Regions from separate parts of the Homo sapiens genome. Here region 1 is linked to region 2. The links are contacts of gene promoters, found by promoter capture Hi-C in blood cells and fetal thymus (Javierre and others, 2016). All regions are on one chromosome and are shown on one strand. The core of a region is centred on a gene start or on the middle of the fragment in contact, and the rest is flanking DNA. Distances in the headings are between cores, read along the strand shown. Region 1 overlaps HMG20A (high mobility group 20A). Region 2 holds the start of RCN2 (reticulocalbin 2).

What was found. The method cuts DNA at HindIII sites, captures the fragments that hold promoters and counts their contacts. A CHiCAGO score of 5 or more calls a contact.
Region 1: a contact is called between a fragment that was not itself captured here and the fragment with the promoter of RCN2 in region 2, in 1 of 17 cell types (naive CD8 T cells). The highest score is 5.1, in naive CD8 T cells.

Annotation. Positions count from the first base shown.
Region 1 is chr15:77,477,900-77,480,660 of GRCh38, forward strand. It overlaps HMG20A (high mobility group 20A), which reads left to right. Exons shown (of 10, transcript NM_001304504.2): 8 at 396-611; 9 at 1,280-1,422. The coding sequence ends at 1,416. Among named protein-coding and RNA genes, the nearest start is that of HMG20A, 58 kb to the left of the region's middle. The HindIII fragment of the contact is 1,135 bases long and covers 861-1,995 here.
Region 2 is chr15:76,930,266-76,933,407 of GRCh38, forward strand. It overlaps RCN2 (reticulocalbin 2), which reads left to right and starts at 1,484. Exons shown (of 7, transcript NM_002902.3): 1 at 1,484-1,720; 2 at 2,096-2,201. The coding sequence starts at 1,577. RefSeq lists a silencer at 1,177-1,926. The HindIII fragment of the contact is 17,303 bases long and covers 1-3,142 here.

The DNA.
Region 1 (2,761 bases), core at 178-2,677, 550 kb after region 2:
AAATAAGTAAGAGCAAGTCTGATCCCATTGTGGTAAAGATGGGTACCTACAGCTGTGCTTGGCCAGTCTCCCAGGATCCCCCTGCAAAACCCCTCAGGCTTCTGATTGTACAATTTAAAAAGCAAAAACTAACAAACAAAAAAATACTGGGAATTGAAACTGTTTGTTGCAATCTTATGTATGGAATGTGACTAGCTTTAAGAATTAAAATAGCTCTGGGGAGTCAGGCGTTTCATTGCTGAAATTGCTATCTGGAATGCCATAATGAGAATAGGGAGATGAGGTGGGGTAGCTAAATTAGAGGCAGCTAAGCAGAACTTCCCTGTAAGAGTCATTGGGACTCCTCAGAGACTCCTTCTAGTGCTGCATGTGTTCTGTGGGATGTATGTCCTCAGCTCGGGAAGCAGAGCTCCGCCAGCTTCGCAAATCCAACATGGAGTTTGAGGAGAGGAATGCAGCCCTGCAAAAGCACGTGGAGAGCATGCGCACAGCAGTGGAGAAGCTGGAGGTGGATGTGATCCAGGAGCGGAGCCGCAACACAGTCTTACAGCAGCACCTGGAGACCCTGCGGCAGGTGCTGACCAGCAGCTTTGCCAGCATGCCCTTGCCTGGTAAGTCCTCCTGCCTGAGAACTGTCAGTGACAGGGGTGTGTGTGTTGTGTGGAGTGGGGTGCTGTTTATGTTAGTACTGGTGTGGAGAGATTGAAATCTCCTCCAGAGGAAAATTAATTAAACTACATTTTTTCTTCTCTGGATATAATAGAATGTCAGTATTGGCTAAAATCGTCCAATGTTTCAGGCTCTCTGGTCATTCAAATTTTTGTCCATTTATATTTTAATATCTATTTTCCCCTCTTTTAAGCTTAATTTGCTATTCAGAACACTGGAAACTGAGTAGTAAATCTTGAGAGTGTTTCTTCTTATGTATGTTTGTTTGCTTTTTAGTTGTTTTTGTTTTAACGGGAAGGAAGGGAGAATGAACACTGGTATTTCTTATATACTCTTTCATTTTGAAGATAGTCATAGCAGAAAGCTGAGCGAGTCTAACCTTCTGTTACATGCAGCTGCTCATATATACTATACAGCAATTATATAGCCCATCTGTTTATTTAGAGTATGTGGACTAATTTCATTTCTTTGAGATCTAAAAGTCTCTCCTCTAAAATTAAAAGCATGTCTGTGGAGCAGACCACATTAGAATCACTGTTTCTTTGAAATTGTGTTTTATGGTACAACTGAATAGGGAGGATTTTCTTACTTTCTTCTTATCTCACTTCAGGAAGTGGAGAGACACCTACAGTGGACACCATTGACTCATATATGAACAGACTGCACAGTATTATTTTAGCTAATCCCCAAGACAATGAAAACTTCATAGCTACAGTTCGAGAAGTTGTGAACAGACTCGATCGTTAGGGAATGGTGAGTGCTCACTGATAAATATTTATATGCCAGCACATCATCAAAAATAAGATGTCATCAGACTTTATCAATACTACTAAAACCCTGGGATTACATTGGATGAACAAGTTGGAGACTTGGTTAAGATTCCTGTTGCATGGTTGTTAAATGTAGTAAATAATATTAGAAAAGAGAATCACTGTAGTCCCAGCTACTTGGGAGGCTGAGGTGGGAGGATTGCTTGAGCCCAGCAGTTCAAGTCCAGAGAGATCCTGTCTCTAAAAATAAAAGAAAACAGACTCAAGACAGTTTTTTCTTATGCTTGCTTCAGAATGGTTTAATGGGAAAAGCATGGTTTTTGTGGCTTGACCTCATTTCTAGCTTTGTCACTTATTAGCTGTATTCTTGGGCATTAGTTTCCCAAAAGGTTTTGAAAAGTGAGTGGGAAACTTAGAAGAAATCATCCCCAAAACAGCACTCAGAACAAAATAAATATAACTTAATTTTTAATCTTCCTTTTCTCTGGAAAATACTAATGATAATTTAGAAGTAGTCAGTGAGACATTGTATGTATGTGAGCCTACATAAGTAGGAAGCTTTTATATTCACCACTCAATAACACAGTGACTGTTGTCTGTTAAATGTTGATGTGGACTCACCATACAAACAGGTAACTCCCTGGTTTTGATAGATTAAAAAATAAACTCTTCAGCCAGGTGCAATGGCTCACACCTGTAAGCCTAGCAGTTTGGGAGGTCAAGGCAGGCAGATCGCTGGAGTCCAGGTTCAAGACCAGTCTGGGCAACATGACAAAACCCCGTATCTACAAAAAATACAAAAAATTAGCCAGGCATGGTGGTATGCGCTTGTGGTCCCAGCTGCTTGGGAGGCTAAAGTGGGAGGATCACTTGGGCTTAGAAGGTCAAGGCGAGGCTGCAGTGAGCCATTATCAGACCACTGCATGCCAGCCTGGGTGACAGAGCAAGACACTGTCTCAAAAATTTTTTTAAATAAAAAATAAATAAACTCTTGGTGGGGCACAGTGGCTCACACCTGTAGTCCTAGCACTTTGGGAGGTTGAGGCAGTATTGCCTGAGCCCAGGAGTTCAAGACCAGCTTGGGCAAAATAGTGAGACCCCTGCTTTAAAAAAAAATGAAAAAAATTAGCTGAGCATGATGGCGCACACCTATAGTCCTAGCTACTCAGGAGGCTGAGGCAGGAGGATCACTTAATCCCAGGAGTTCAGGTTTCAGTAAGCTAGGGTCACACTAGTGTATTCTAGCCAGGGTAACAGAGCAAGATTCTGTCTCAAAAAAAAAAAAAACAAAATAAAAATATAAAATTCTCAATAAGCAAAAA
Region 2 (3,142 bases), core at 234-2,733:
GGCCCCCAAAACTCCCATCTGTGGATCCCCTGAGTTTAGAAGAACTTCCACAGTACCTTGTAGCCTACCTTTTATAACTGGAGTCACGCCGGAAGCTGGTCAAAGTTTACCTTTTACTTATTGGAGAACAACAGGTACAAAGCAGAGTTTCTTATATTAAATTGGGACATTTTTCTCTTTTTTTCCTCAAAACCGAGAATGGAAGTGAAAATTAAAATCCAGCAATAAAGGGTTTTCTTTTTAGTTTAATGAAATCAACTCTAAAATTTGCTTTTATTTATATTCTGAAATTTAAAACTTTGTTCTTCGTTGATCTTTATAACATTGGAAAGATTGAACTTACACTTTGCTCTGTGAATCTTTCAATGGTTTGTGACCAAACCATAAATTTCAACCCGACCCAGGAAATTTCTGCGACTTGTGCCCACCCAGTTTTGCAGTTTGGAACAGAATTCTTGCTCCCAATCCAAATAGAGACTGAGAGAAATGAAAGAGGACCCAGAAAGCCTTTTCTTCTCTGTGAAAGGCCTGATCCTAAGTGGCGCAATCAATAAAGAAAAGGGTTCAAGGTGCAGCCTACAAATTTCTTAGAGTTTAATGTGTTCAGGTTGAGGTGGAGAAATTACATAAACCTGTGAATAGACATGGAATAGAAGCCATGTGTATATGCATTCTGTCCCTAAAGGTTTTGCTAGGTACTTACTAAGCTATTCCTTCTGTGCAATCATCTTTCGTTTTTCTACTTGTATGGATGAAAGCCTACCTTCACTGAACACTTCACCTTATGTGCCAGCTATTGTTCTAAACCCATTACATTATTTAATCTTCACGACAATTCTTTAAGGTAGTCTTATTACTATGCTCATTTTATAGATGAGCAAACAAGTTTTCAGGGGTCAAGAAATTTGAGCAAGTTCACATTAACTTGTAAATCACGAAATTGAGCATCAGATACAAGCATCTGGCTGCACTTCCTGAGTTTGTACGTCCTACTCTCATAAAATAGATACATTGAAGACTGAGAAAGAATACTGTTGGCCGATTCCTCAGGCAATAATTTTTTCGATATTGTATTGTTGTCTCAGAAACCTCCAGCCTCTCTCATTGATGGACGGTAGGAGGGGCACATGGAGTGGACCAGGAGTGGGCAGGAGTGGGGTGGGGGCGTGCTTTTAGAAGCGTTTCGGGGGAACGACAAGGCGCGGGTCGTAGAGGTCTACCCTCTCTGCAGTCCCAGCATGGCTCCTGGAGCTCTCTGGGCGGCCGCTGACCCCGACATCGCGGCGGCCCGCCCCCAGCGCCGCGCTGCCCAATCAGCGGCGCGGCCTGGTGCCCCGCCACTCCGCGCCGGCCATATAGGCCTCCTCCTGGCGCGCCTCCGCACCGCATTGGTGGACCGGCCCCCAGCCCGTCCATGGGCGTTGTGGCCGCCACCGCAGGTTCCGCCTCCCGTTCCCTCCGCCCTCAACGTACGTCGCACCGCCTCTCTGTAGCCGCCCGCGGAGCATCGCAGCCGGCCCGGGCCCCCGCCAGCCTCCCTCCTCGCGTCCCTCGGTGTCCTCCGCGGGCCGGCGCGATGCGGCTGGGCCCGAGGACCGCGGCGTTGGGGCTGCTGCTGCTGTGCGCCGCCGCGGCCGGCGCCGGCAAGGCCGAGGAGCTGCACTACCCGCTGGGCGAGCGCCGCAGCGACTACGACCGCGAGGCGCTGCTGGGCGTCCAGGTGAGGCGGCCAGGCCGGTGCTGGGAGGGCCGGGCCTCGCACCGCGGCTGCCGCGGGCTTTGTCCCGGGACAAAGGGGGGCGGCCGGGCGAGGCCTGGCAGGGGCGGCCTGACAATGGGGGCCGGGCGGCGCGGCACTCGCTCTCTGGGGGTCCTGGGGCCTGGAAAGCCTGAGGAGATAGCACGGCCCAAGAGCTGGATCCCTTCTACCCCTCAGATCATGGAGGGTGTGTAGGGGGTAGGGGCCTTGAAGTGCAGGTGCGGGTCACCCCGAAACCCTTTGGCAAGGGGGTCTTCTAGTAGCCCTGTTTTTCTCCACCATTTTGCCCCACTGATAGTAATGCTTGGCCCTCCTGTGTGTCGCTTCCCCCTAAAGGAAGATGTGGATGAATATGTTAAACTCGGCCACGAAGAGCAGCAAAAAAGACTGCAGGCGATCATAAAGAAAATCGACTTGGACTCAGATGGCTTTCTCACTGAAAGTAAGGACTGCCCTACACGACTAACAATGGAGACAAACACAAATATGTTAAGCAGCGGTGTCTGCTGAATGTATAGATTGCTAGTGTCCCAAGTTGGAAGTCCTGTGAGAAGGAGAAAAGGACATGGAGAATAGGCTTTATACTTACAAATCTTTAGACACTGAGAACCAAGTAAAACTCGGTGCTTTCTCCAGTTATATATAAACATCATTGACCCTGTACTCTATGTGGAAGTCACACCTTGAGACACCCTCTTTCTCACGTGACTTTTGTTAGTGTCAACAATATGATTTATTTTAGAGAAATATGCCCCAAAACTTTAAGGCAGTAAATGATTTATCGCTCTTTTGATATATGCTTCATTTAAATTTTAGGAATTTGCTTCTTTTTTTAAGCAAGTAGAAAAAGACCTGTTGCCTGTGAATTACGTTTATTATAACATTATACCAAAATGTTAGAGCTGGTAGGGGCCTTGGGATCATCTTGTCCACATCACTTTGTAGAGATGAAGAAATGAAGCACAGGGATAAGTGCCTTCTACAAATAAGTGGCAAAGCTGGACTAGAATCCAGGTATCCTGCTCTTAATTCAGGTTTTAATATCCTTCAGTTAAAAAAAAAAATCTGATGCTCTCAGGTAAATTCTCTAGTCAGAAATGAAATGCACAGACTATTAAAAGAATGTTCTAAATAAATTGCTGTGCAGTTGTCTCTCCCCATTGTTCAATTCAAATGATGTTCCCTGTCAGCGTTCCAAGTGGGTCCTCAGAAAAATTCAGGTTGTTATTGTGACTCTTAAGTTAGCTGTTTTTCTGTAACTCTCATTTAAATGCTGTTCACCATCAAGGAATTAAGTTGCTGGAGACAATTAAAAACTGGTAAATTTAAGATGTGCTGTCAATGACATATTCACATTGGAACCCTCTGGAAGATTAAGGGCTT